Linked DNA regions of Homo sapiens: region 2 is linked to region 1. The links are contacts of gene promoters, found by promoter capture Hi-C in blood cells and fetal thymus (Javierre and others, 2016). All regions are on one chromosome and are shown on one strand. The core of a region is centred on a gene start or on the middle of the fragment in contact, and the rest is flanking DNA. Distances in the headings are between cores, read along the strand shown. Region 1 holds the start of CD58 (CD58 molecule). Region 2 has its middle 73 kb from the start of CD2.

Region 1 (6,298 bases), core at 761-3,260:
CTTTTTGGCTGCCTGCTTAACGCATTGCAGGTCCAGCATTCCTGAGCTGCTTTTGATTCATAAAATTAACCAGGCATTTGAGGGCTTCTAAAAGTGCTTGATGGACAGCATTTCTCTCAATGAAAGAGCAGGCACTGCTCCTTGGTCAAAGGAGAGTCCAACCAAGGAAGCCTAATGAGTTATTCCTCACCCAATACCTGGAGACCATGACCTGGGGGTGAGGGGCTTCCCCAGCCCCATGTGACTGGGCTGTTCTTTCCTCAGCCCTGCTCTTAAGGGGCTTAACAGCTCTTGCTGGCAGTCCAAATGGCTGCATAGCTGTCAGTCCAAAAGTCCCATTATCATATCCCGTTCCTGTATGAAGGGATAAGAGTAGAGGCATTGGACATGGCCTCAGCTGGACTCCAAGTTCTGCCCTTTACTGTGTGCCCTGAGTAATTTACCTTCCCCAGGCATCAGTTTCCTCATTTGCAAAAACAACAGCAGCAGTAAGACTAAGTTAATCCAAGCAATGCACTTCACACAGGGCCTGCTCAATAGATGTTTGCTGTCATATCACTTCCCAGCTCAAAAACTTTCTGTGGCTCCCCAGTGTCTGAAGGTCTAACCCCATCCTGCCTTTCTAAGTTGGCCTGAGTTCCTACCAGCCCAGGGCAGAGAACACTTGATTTCCTCATATTTTATGTTACACACTGCCCCTGCCTTGTGTTCCCAGTATCTACAGATGGTAGGGAATATCTCGAGATAGCAGGTTTGTGGTAGAGGGCATTGGTCCCAGAAGTTTCACTGATAGAGATACCTTTTAAGATTTTATGGCTAACTTAAGAAATAATTCATGTCTCTTTGCAATATGGTTCAAGTGTCTTGAGTGACTTCGAGTCCCCACCTGGGGATAATGGAGGTGAAGCAGCAAGAAAGCACATTCCCACTCAGTTTCACAACCTGCACCATGTATGTGTTGGTGGTTATTTGGGCAGCAGGGAGTCCTGTTCATGGAAATGGATTCCTGCTCACATAATAACTAAGAGTTCTGTGAACTCCCTCAGCTGGGCAGGGGCAACTCTGGTGCTTCTGTCTGCAAGAAAGGGGACAGACAGGGAGGCTGATGTGAGGAGCTGGTTCTGGGAATAGGGTCATTTGTTCTGGGATATAGGGATGTGAGGGGAGGGCCAGCTCAATCCAGACTGATGAAGAGCGGGGAGAGTGATGAGTGCCTGCCTCAGCTTGGGCTGGATGGATGTGGGGAGGCTGGGCAGTGAGGGAGATGTGGATCTGACATCTCAGCCTGAGGGAAAGTCCCGGTTGAGATGGGGGAAGACAGAAAAAGAGGAATCTGAGAAGGGAGAAACCAAAGGCTGGAAATCCCAGCTCCGGGGATAAGGGAGTATGGGGACGGGGGAGGCCTGCCTCAGGTAACCCTACGCCTAACAGTTGTCTAAAATGCTCCCTTTCCTTGTCATGTTTGAGGAAAAGTGGTTCAAAGAGGCCGTCTGATGCGGGATCACACAGCGCTGAAGGGATGAGGGGCCCCGGGTGCTCCCGCCCGTCCTGCTGCCTCCTCCGGTGGCTCTCTGGGAGCCACAGCCCCGTCTAGCCACGGAGGGGCCTACAGCACGCCCCAAACGCTAAGGGGAAGCGCGGGAGGTGCGGTAGGAAGGCAGAGAAACCTGGTTTTTAAAACCAAGCCATTTTCAAGGAAAGAATTTCTTACTTTAAAACCTTGGTTTTTAAAACCAAGCCATTTTCAAGGAAAGAATTTCTTACTTAAAAATAGCGTATGGAATGGCGGCGGAATGACGGGAGGGACCGAGCTGGGGGACTGGACGGCGCCCCGGGGACACAGGAAGGAGGCGCGCAGAGCCGAGGCCAGAGGCGCGCCCGGGGAGTGGAAGCGCGAAGACAAACGCGGCGCCGCGGAGGGTGGGGGAGGAAGGGCCGGGGCGGGCCGCCGGCTGCCAGCCCAGGGCGGGGCGGAGCCCTACTTCTGGCCGACCGCGTAGGCGGTGCTTGAACTTAGGGCTGCTTGTGGCTGGGCACTCGCGCAGAGGCCGGCCCGACGAGCCATGGTTGCTGGGAGCGACGCGGGGCGGGCCCTGGGGGTCCTCAGCGTGGTCTGCCTGCTGCACTGCTTTGGTGAGTGAAGCCTGCCCCAGGGGCCCCGCGCCGGCCGGCGGGTACTGGGCAGCACCCAGGCTGGGTGGACGCGCCGGGCTCGAGGCGGTTGCCGATCAGAGACGGGTGGGGACGGGTCGCTGTGGGCCGGGAACAACTCAGCCGTGGGAGCCTTTTCAGGAAGAGAAAGTTGTTATTTCATCGCCAGTGTCCCTCATGGAGTCAGCAAGGAACTGTGTGGCCTTAGGGAAGGACGGGCTCCGGCCCGCTAGCCTCTCCTGCGGGGCCTGCGCCCCCCCGCCGGCCCCCTCCCGAGCTCCAGTGACCAAGTTCCTTCCTGGGCTTCCCCAGTAACGTCGCTGAGCGCTTCAGCGGACTGCAAAATTTTTCCCAGCCGTGAACGCGCCCGGGACGGGGAGCGGGCGCGGATGCCACCTGCTCGAGGGCGACGCCTGCTGCCCTCCCCGCGCGGTGCCGTCCCCGCCCGCGCGGCGTCCGCCGTATCAGCAGAGAGGACTTTTCAGAATCGCCCCACAGCGAGGAGCGGGTAGGCAACTAGGAAGCCCAGTCGGCAGCGGCCTCACGTTGGGATTCCTAAGTGGTGCGACTCCTGCTCCTTTTTCCTCCCCTCAAATCCTAAAAACTAGTATCAGAACTGGTTCCATCCTCTCCGTGTGTTGTCAGCCAAGTCGTCACAACAACCTCAGGAAATAGGTCCCCTTCTTCCCATTTTGCCTCCCCATCCTCCTTCACCCTCCACACATTGGCCCCAGTCAGGCCATAGCAAAACCCCGGGAGTACAGCAGTAACCTCCCAGCGAGTTCAACTGTACTTGAGGGGTTCTCATGGCTGGCTCCTGCACCCCACTGCCAGCCCTCCAGCCCGTCCGTCCGTTTGCTCAGCGTCCGCTGCCTGCCCGGGAGGTGCGCGTGTGCATCTATGGAAGACAGCCAAGGGGGAGGGGTTGAGATAGACTCAAAAGTACCCGCACGATCAGATAAGTCAGTGTTGTAAGAGGCCTGGGCTGGGCGTGGTGGCTTACACCTGTCATCCTAGCACTTTGGGAGGCTGAGGCAGGTGGATCACTTGAGGCCAGGAATCGGAGACCAGCAGGGCCAACACGGTGAAAGATCGGCTCTACAAAAAATACAAAAATTAGCTGAGCGTGGTGGCGCATACCTATAGTCCCAGCTACTCGGAAGGCTGAGGTGGGAGAATCACCTGAGTCCCGGAGGCAGAGGATGCAGTGAGCTGTGATTGTGCCACTGAACTCCAGCCTGGGTGACAGAATATGACCTGTCTCAAAAAAAAAAAAAAAAAAAAAAGGTGAGCTGTGAGGGTACAGAGGGAAGAAGAAGGCAGTCTCTTTTGTGAAATCAAGTGTCTTTTGTGAAGCAGTCTTCATGGGAGGGAGGATATTTGAGCCCAGCCTTCAAGGACTGGTGATGTGTGGACATGTGATAATGTGGGAAAAGATTGCTGAGTGTCCCCTTAGGGAGTCTGGATTCTCTGAGCTGAGAGAGCTTCTCCTGGGCCTTACAGGATCAGGACCATGCGCCTGGGAAGAAGAATCTGTTAGCAACAAAGAGGAAGGCTGCAGTCAGGAGGAATTGGAGGCAGGGAGGCCAGAAGGCCAGGGTGGACTACCATCACAGGGCCCAAATAGCTCTGGGGAGTTCATGTGCGGGTGGCTGGGGAAAAGAAGAGATACAAACAGGGATTAATTGAATGGATGGGGTAACTCTCCTCCAGGCAAGCTGGTCCCTCATTCCCTGGCACCTTGGGTCACTGCTGCCTGTACCTGTGTTCTCCCTTCCACTGCAAACCCAGTTTGCCCAAGCTCCACCTCCAACAGATTATTTGAACTGTCCCTTCCTGGTGATCTCTCTCACCTAATTCATGTATTCATTCAGAAGTCATTTGATTCAGCAAACATGTATTTATAAACTGCTCTGCATAGGCCTTAAACTAAAGACAAGACTGAATGGGTATATCCCCTTTTGGGGACCCAAGCCTGCCTCATTAGGGAAGCTGCAAATGCAGTGATTAACAGCATCAGCTCTGGGGTCAGATGCCTAGCTTTGGATCCTGGCCCCACTCCTCACCTGAGTCATGAACTTGTGTGAGTTCCCTAACTTCTCTTCACTTCAGTACCTTCACTTTTGAAGAGAGTACCACTCACATGAGGGAAAGGAGAATAATAAACCCACTTCATAGAATTACTGGGAACATCAGTCATGCAATAAATATTTACTGAGTGTCAATTATATGTTAAGCACTGCACAATGGACGGGGGATACAGCAAGCTATGCACAGTTCCCTGCCTTTGTGAAGCTCACCTTATAGTGAGGGAGAGAGACAGTAAGTAAATGAGTAAAAACATGGATGCTGGATGGTGATAAAGTAAACATTTACTAGTACAGAGATGAGTAAAGCAAAGAAAGGGGTGATGGAAGTCGTTAATACTTCAGTTTAGGGTTTTTTTTGAAATTTTAGAACAATTAAAATCTTTAGGACAGTTGCAAAATTAGTACAGTGAACATTTGCGTACTTTCTCCTTGAATCACCAGTTAACTGTCACATTAGTTTTCTTTGTTATTTTTGCCATCTGTTATTTTTGCCAAACCATTTGAGAGTTTCAGATCTCATGACACCTCACCTGTAATTCTTTATCATATGTCTCATAAGAACAAGAGCATTCTCCAACAAGTCACAGAATCATCATAATCTGGAAATGTGGCATTGATACAATACTGTTTCCTGGTAGAGAACCCAGAAGCCAGTCCTGCACCACATACTTCATTTGATAATCATGCCTTTTTAACCCCCTTTAACCTAAAACTGTTGCTTTTTTTTTTTTTTTTTTTTGGTACTTTAAGACATCATCATTTTTGAAGTGTCTGGGCTAGTTGCTTTACCGAATGTCCCTTTGGATGTGGATTGCCTGCTTGTTTCCTCATGATCAGATTCTGGTTGTAACTCTTTGTAGCAGGAATACTTCATAGCTATGTTGGGTCCTTCTCAGTGTGTCACATCAGGAAGATGTGGTCTGTTTGTCACATTATTGGAGATGTTAACTTTGACATTTGGTTAAAGTGAAGTTTACCAGATTTCTCCATTGTAGAGGCACCATTTTACCTTTGTAAGTAATAAATGATGTGTTAAGTGATGTTTTGAGGTTGAGTGAATATCCTGTTCTCCAGCCATTGTTCATTCAGTGGTTTTAGTATCCTATGGTGATTCTTCCCAGAATCCATTATCACTAAAATATTTTATTTTATTTTTTGAGACAGGGTCTCACTGTGTCACCCAGGCTGGAGTACAGGGGTGCTATCACAGCTAACTCCAGCCTCGACCTCTGAGGCTCAAGCAATTCTGCCACCTCAGCCTTCTGAGTAGCCAGGACTACAGGTGCATGCCACCATGCTTGGCTAATTTTTTTTTAGTTTTTGTAGAAACAGGGTTTCCCTATGTTGCCCAGACTGGTCTTAAACTCCTGGGCTCAAGTGATCCTCCCTCCTTGGCCTACCGAAGTGTTGGGATTACAGGCATGAACCACCACATCCAGCCACTAAAATATTTTCAAATGGTAATTTTCTTCCCCCACCCTTGTCCCTTTCTTCTCCCTCCCTCCCTTCCTTCCATCCTTCCTCTCTCCCCTCCCCTCCCTCCCTCCCCTCCCCTCCCTTTCCCTCCCCTCCCCCTCCCTTCCTGTCCCTTCCCTTCCCTTCCCTTCCCTTCCCTTCTTTCCTTCTTTGTTTCATTGCCTTTTCTCTTTTCTTTTGAGACACAGTCTCACTCTGTTGCCCAGGCTAGAGTATAGTGACACAATTATGGCTCACTGCAGCCTTGATCTCCCAGACTCAAGCGATCCTCCCACCTCAGTTTCCAAATAGCTGGGACTACAGGGACATGCCTTCACGTCCACCTAATTTTTTTGTATTTTTTATAGAGACGGGGTTTTGCCATGTTGCCCAGGCTGGTCTTGAACTCCTGGGCTCAAGCAATCCTCCCAAGTCAGTTTCCCAAAGTGTCGGGATTATAGGCATGAGCCACCCAGCAATTTTCTCTTCTGTTTCTCTCTATATATATATTTATTAGTTTACATTGTTCAGTAATGGATAGCTTTTGCACACACATCCTCCCTTTTTTTCTTTTATTTTAGAAGGTTATGTGGACTCATGGA
Region 2 (6,503 bases), core at 1,722-4,221, 260 kb before region 1:
TTGCTGAGCTCATGTTCACATTTCCAGATAAAGTCAGTCTGTTTTCCAAAGTAGTTGTGCCAGTTTACACTTTGCCAACAGTGTATGAGAGTCCCTGTTTTTCCATAACCTTGCCAACACTCAGTTTTATCAGTCTTTTTTACTTTAGCCATTCTGGTGAGAATTAAGTTATACTTCGTTGTGGTTTTAATTTGCATTTAACTTTTCAGTAAATGAGATTAGTCAATGTATCAGTCAGAGTCCCAGCAGAAAAATATGATACATTCAACTCAGGATAACTGTGTGTGTGTGTGTGTGTGTGTGTGTGTGTGTGTGTGTGAGAGAGAGAGAGAGAGAGAAAGGGAGAGAGACAGAGAGAGAGAGAGAGAGAAGGGTTAAGATAGGTGTGAGCATGTGAAGAGAAATAGTAGAGATGGTGCAAAAACTCAAGACTAGCAGCAGTAAGTCTGTCACTATCCTTAGGCCAAAAAGATGGAGATAGAATTTCATAGAGTTGGCCACCATTCGAGAAGCACTGACCTTCTGTGAAGAAAAGAGCCAATCCAAGGCAACTGCTCTCAGGGAGCAACTAGCTCACTCTTTTTCTGTCTCTGAATTCCCAAGGGACTCCTCATAGCCAGGAGATGTTTGATGAATCTGGAGGAGCAAACAGATTTTTTTGCGGCAAGAGACCCATTTATGAAGCAGAGAGTGCACCCTCACCAGACTTAGAATCTGCTGGCATTTTGATCTTGGATTCCCAGCTTCCAGTACTCTGAGAAATAAATTTCCATTATTTATAAATTACCCAGTCTATATGGCTGGCACATAGAAGGCTCTCAATAAATATTTGTGAATGTTTGTTGAATAAATCCTTATTTTACAAACATGGAATGGAAACACTGAGCATTAAGCAGCTTACTTAAAGTCACCCAGTGAGTAAGTGGCAGAGCTGGGATTCCAGCCTACACTCTGACCACTGTGCTCTCTGTCTCTGAGGCTGGTGCTGTACTACACAAATAGTAGTATAGCACAATAGTATAGTGCTATACTATTTGTATAGAGAGTATACTATTTGTATAGTATAGCACTGTACTATTTATGTACATTAGAAACATAGCAATACAGCACCTTTTTTTTTCAGAAATAATGCACATTCAAGGACTCAGGCAAAACATATTTGAATGGGTGTCTATGTGGAAGGGAGAGAAAGAAGAGTTGAAATTAGAAATGAAGGGAAGGAAGGCCAGGCATGGTGGCTCACGCCTGTAATCCTAGCACTTTGGGAGGCTAAGGCAGGCGGATCACTTGAGATCAGGAGTTCGAGACCAGCCTGGCCAACATGGTGAAACCTCCTGTCTACTAAAAATATAAAAAATTAGTTGGGCATGGTGGCGGGTGCCTGTAATCCCAGCTACTTGGGAGGCTGAGGCAGGAGAATTGCTTGAACCCAGGAGGTGGAGGTTGTAGTGAGCCAAGATCGTGCCACTAATCATTTCTCTAATGATTAATGATGTTGAACATCTCTTTTCATGTCTTTTTTCTTCTTAAAGATGAGTATGTTTGTAAAGTGATGCAAATGACCCAGTAAAGCAAGAGCTTGGTGATGCAGGAGGTATCACGGATCTCTGCAGGGGCCATGTCCACAAGGAGGAGCAAAAAAGACTGAGGTCTACACTTCAAACCAAGGGTGAGGCTTTGATTATGGCAAGGACACTTCGACCTACTTACCTGGCCTGAAGAAGAGGAGGTACGTGGGAATGCAGGCTGGATTCTAGATTTGGTGATGGGAAGATGAGACCATTCCTATTTGAAACCTTCTATTTTTTCCATGTAGTAAGAGGTGAGTTCACCTGCTGAAGAGGGTGCAGTGGCAGAAAATGTAGAAAGTCTAAAGTAAGAACAAGAAGATATGAGTTAGTTACTCCAGAGAGTGGGAAACGGTCAGTGTTGAGGGAAGCTTTGAGCACTCTGGTCAGGCTTCTGGTCATGAATTCAAAGTGTGAGGGTCAGCCTGGCATAAGATTTTCTTTAGAAATATTTTATCTGGCCAGGTGCGGTGGCTCACGCCTGTAATCCCAGCACTTTGGGGGGCCGAGGTGAGCGGAACAGGAGTTCGAGACCAGCCTGACCAACATGGTGAAACCCTGTCTCTACTAAAAATACAAAAAAATTAGCTGGGTGTCGTGGTGTGCGCCTGTAATCCCAGCTACTTGGGAGACAGGAGAATCGCTTGAACCCGGAGGCAGAGATTGCCGTGAGCTGAGATCGCGCCACCGCACTCCAGCCTGGGTGACAGAGTGAGACTCTGTCTCAAAAAAAAAAAAAAGAAATATTTTATTTAGGCACATTGGATACAGGCAAGGAAAAACAGTTATTGAGGTTGTCAGAGAGAGGTTTTTGCCAAAAGAGAAAGGATGAGGAAATGGAGGGTATTTGTGAGGTAGTGTTTATCAGGGTGGGCTTTGGGCTGTAAGTCGGATCAGGAATGCAGTGAAGACAAGAGGCCTGCTAAAGAGTGACACATGATGTGTCTCAATGTAATTAAAGAGTCACAGCCAAAAGGGCACTAGAGCAAGTGGAAGAGAAGGACAGGAAATTAGTTGAGATTTTTTTTAAAGTCTACTTTGTTTTTTAGAGTTTTAGATCCACAGCAAAACTGAACAGAAAGTACAGAGCTTTCCCATATACCCTCTGCCCTCATATGTGCACAACCAACCCTGCTATCAACACACCCCACCAGAGTGGTACATTTGTTACAAGTGAAGAACCTCCAGATGAACCTCCATTGACACATCATTATCACCTTGATACAGGTTGGACATTTGTCCCCTCCACATCTCATGCTGAAATCTGATCCCCAATGCTGGAGGTGGGGCCTAGTGGGAGGTGTTTGGATCATGGGTGAATCCCTCATGAAGGCTGTGGTGCCGTCCTCATGGAAATAAGTAAGTTCTTGCTTTATTAGTTCTAGTGAGAGCTGGTTGCTAAAAATGAGAGATGGCAACTCATCTTTCTTTCTTGCCATATAATCTCTGCATGAGCTGGCTCCCCTTTGCCTTCTACCATGAGTGGAAGCAGCCTGAGGCCCTCATTATAAGCAGATGTTGGCGCCATGCTTCCTGTACAGCCTACAGAGCTCTGAGCCAAATAAACCTCTTTGTAAATTACCCAGCCCAGGTAAGACACACCCAAAGTCCATAGTTCACATTAGGGTTCACCCTTGGTGTTGTATATTCTGTGGGTCCTGACAAAGGTATAATGACATGTATACTCCAGTAGGGTATCACACAATATCGTTTCACTGCCCTAAAAATACTTTATACTCAACCTCTTCATCCCTCCCTTCTCCCAAACCTCTGGCAAACACCTTTCCTTTTAATCTCCATAGTTTTGTCTCTTCCAGTGCCATTTAGTTGGAATTATACAGCATGTAGCCTTTTCAGGTTGGCTTCTTTCATTTACAGTCCCTCCATGTCTTTTCATGGTCTAGTGGGGATTTCTGAGAGGGAAATTTCAGAGCTGGTGTTCTTCTTGGTGATGACAAAGTCTAAGCTGATTACAGGTATCGGTGGCTGAGACGAAGTGAAGGAAAAGGTTGCTGGAGGTGAACAGATGGAGGAAACCAGAGGCCAGGACGTTGGATGAGTCATCCTCGTGGTTCTGAAGTGAGTGAACCATCCCACTGTCAATCACCCTTGGAAGAGATAATGCCTGAGACAGGAAATGAGGCCTAAGAGGGACAAGAAGAGTTGCAGTTTCCTTTCCATGAGCCTTAAGAAGTGGAGCTCAGGGCTTTGTGCAGGGGTGCTGGGGTGAGAGGCTCTACGTAGGCTGTAAGTGATTGCAGAGCTCAGACATGGGGAGAGAAAGGTTGGCTTCTTCCTGAGTGAACAGGCTGGGAGGTGGACAGGATGGCATTCTATAAGCAGGCGAGGATTGCAGATTCTGTCTTCTCCTCTCTCTGACATGAAGGTTTATGCTATTTTTGTGGCTGTGTTGTAATACCCTTAACCTAAGCTTTAGGTACGAATCTTGTTAAAGATTAACAGTTTGGTTTTTGCTGTCATGGTGGGGAATGGAGGGAAGGACCTGTGGCCAGCTTGAGAGAGTCAGAAGAAAGCTGCTCCCAAGTGTGGTTGAAGGACTGCAGTGGAGTAAGCTGTGGCTGGAGACAGGGCCCGGCCAAGGGGGCTGGGCCAACCAGGGAAGACTTCGAGGGATGGGAGTTACCTCAGAAATACATGGGGTGAAATGTGAGGGAAAAACAAGTTTCCTGTAGTCAAAGGAGGCTAGGATAGGTTCCATCCCTTGTTTTAAAATAAGACAGTGACAGAGTTGTTTAGACAAATGCTGGTACAGACCTTACATTTGGATTATACTTGCATAAACAAGTGCCTGCCCCTCTTCCTCTTCATACCCTCTTCAAGTGACTTATTTTGTGGTCCTTTTCCCTCAAAGCTGCTCCTGAAGTTCATTTGCATACCATTTCTCAGTAGACAGAATGGGAGTCAGGGAAGCACCTCCACCCCTTCCTGACGGCCCACCTTTGCTATGGGTTAATGTGCCTACTCTGTGACACTCTATTCTCTGTGCGTGTGCCTCACAGGCCCACATAGGAGGACCAGAAGATGCAAGGACCTGGGTGTTCGAGGACCAGGGTCTGAGAGGACCAGGGTGTGCAAGGGCCTGGGTGTGCGATGACCTGGGTGTGTGAGGATCTGCGTGTGTGAGGGCCTTGGTGTGTGAAGGCCAGGGTGTGTAGGGACCTGGGTGTGTGGGGTGTGTGAGGACCAGGATGTGTAGGGACCTGGGTATATGGGGTGTGTGAGGGCCAGGGTGTGTGGGGAGCTAAGTGTGCGGGGAGCTAGGTGTGTTGGGATCTGGGTATGTGATGGCCAGGGTGTGTGGGGATCCCAGGACACAGGAACCAAGTTTGAGGACCCAGGTCTGCTTCCCATTTGCCATTCAGCACGTCACCACCGCCTGCTGGTGACAGGAGCGGCAGAAGGGTGCTCTGTAATGAAGGGGCAGGCCTGGAGCCAGCAAGTCCCATCTGCCCTTTACCATAAACTGTCACACAGCACTCGGAACAGAGTTTATGGCCTTGGCTGTGTTCCCATCTTCTGAGTCTCAGGCTGTAAATTATACCAAAGCTGTAGGTCCTGCTGGCTGGGCCCTGGCCACCCTGAGAGGTGGGAGAAGAGGGGAGGACAGATCACACTGTGGACTCCGTCCCCCTCCTCTTCTTTGTGTCTGTCAAAATCAAATTAAGATCAACATCCTGAGTGGCCTTGACGGGGAAAGAAGCTACACAGTGGCTGCAGGATTTGAGGTTTGGAGAGACGGTAGGAATGGAGAAGGGAGGAAGAGGGTCCTAATCTGTGGAACATTTGGAGGAGGCCAGGTCTGTTTTTAGCCTGGGCTGGTGGAGCTGTCTCATTCCTCCCCTCCTACTCTTGGCTAAATCACTCAGCAGCTGAGCCGGGGCTGGGGGTGTTTTCCTGCCCCTCCGCCCGTCCATCTGTCCAAAGGAGTGTCCTGTGCTCACCACACCCAGCTGCCCCCACCGAGCTGGGAGTGGCTCTGAGGCAGTTTGGAATAAGATCTGCTAAAAACAGAGTTGAGGGAAAGGAAAACATTGAATATTAACATAGCAGGGAAGATGGCTGAGGACTGAGAGAAGCACTGCATAAATCTGCATGGCTAATGCAGTCAGGAAAGAGAAGCTGAAAGCCCTGGGACATCAGGTCGAAGACAATGGGGAGTTGTGAACTTGAGGGCAGGAATACACAACAAGGGGAAGATGCTGTCATTTTGGAGTAAGAGGCATTGGGAAAGGAGGAAAGGGGGTGGAGAAGGCAGATGTGATTTTCTAAGCAAGTGAAAAGACAATGAGGTAATTGTTAGCCAATCGGAGGCAAGGATGGAATTTGAACCCAGGAAAGGGAATATAAAAGACCTCTAGGGAATTGAGAGTGCCACTTTCCTGTCCCCTGATTGAGGGGACTACGGAGAACAGGAAGGCCGGTTGGAGGCCTGTGCTTCTCAGTGCTCATGTCTGTGTCCCAGATTTCTCTTTGTGCTGTTTCCAGTGTGGGAATTGTGCTTGGAAGAACATCTCCATGGGCAGGAGGACAGCTCTCCCTGGGAGGAGACCTCTCTTTCTCTAGAGGCCTTTGTCTCCCTGAATCCCCTTCCACAAGGGCAAGGTTCTTGGCCAAACCCCCTTCCCTCAGCAGGTGTCTTCTTCCCACACCTCAGCCTCCATTTCACAGAATGTTGACTCACAGTCAGGAGAGACTTCCGGGATCCTTCAGGAATCCCATCTTTCACATCCTTGACAGGTGGCCATCCGGCTTCAACATAAGCACTTCCACAAACAGGAGTGCAGTTCCTCACAATGCAGCCATTCTAATTTTGGGCAGCTCAAATTGTTAGCAACTTTTTCTTTTATATAAAGAAAATAAACACAACTCACTCTCTAACATTCACTGATTTTACTTAGAGTCATACCGAATATA

Evidence for each region. The method cuts DNA at HindIII sites, captures the fragments that hold promoters and counts their contacts. A CHiCAGO score of 5 or more calls a contact.
Region 2: a contact is called between a fragment that was not itself captured here and the fragment with the promoter of CD58 in region 1, in 5 of 17 cell types (M2 macrophages, megakaryocytes, activated CD4 T cells and 2 more). The highest score is 8.2, in M2 macrophages.

The regions. Positions count from the first base shown.
Region 1 is chr1:116,566,738-116,573,035 of GRCh38, reverse strand. It overlaps CD58 (CD58 molecule), which reads left to right and starts at 2,010. Exons shown (of 6, transcript NM_001779.3): 1 at 2,010-2,133. The coding sequence starts at 2,064. LOC124904385 (a long non-coding RNA gene) reads right to left here and starts at 2,061. Exons shown (of 2, transcript XR_007066497.1): 1 at 1,983-2,061. RefSeq lists silencers at 1,809-2,268, 2,339-2,408 and an enhancer at 2,879-2,938. The HindIII fragment of the contact is 6,609 bases long and covers 1-6,298 here.
Region 2 is chr1:116,824,566-116,831,068 of GRCh38, reverse strand. No RefSeq gene overlaps it. Among named protein-coding and RNA genes, the nearest start is that of CD2, 73 kb to the right of the region's middle. RefSeq lists an enhancer at 3,488-3,677. The HindIII fragment of the contact is 2,060 bases long and covers 1,942-4,001 here.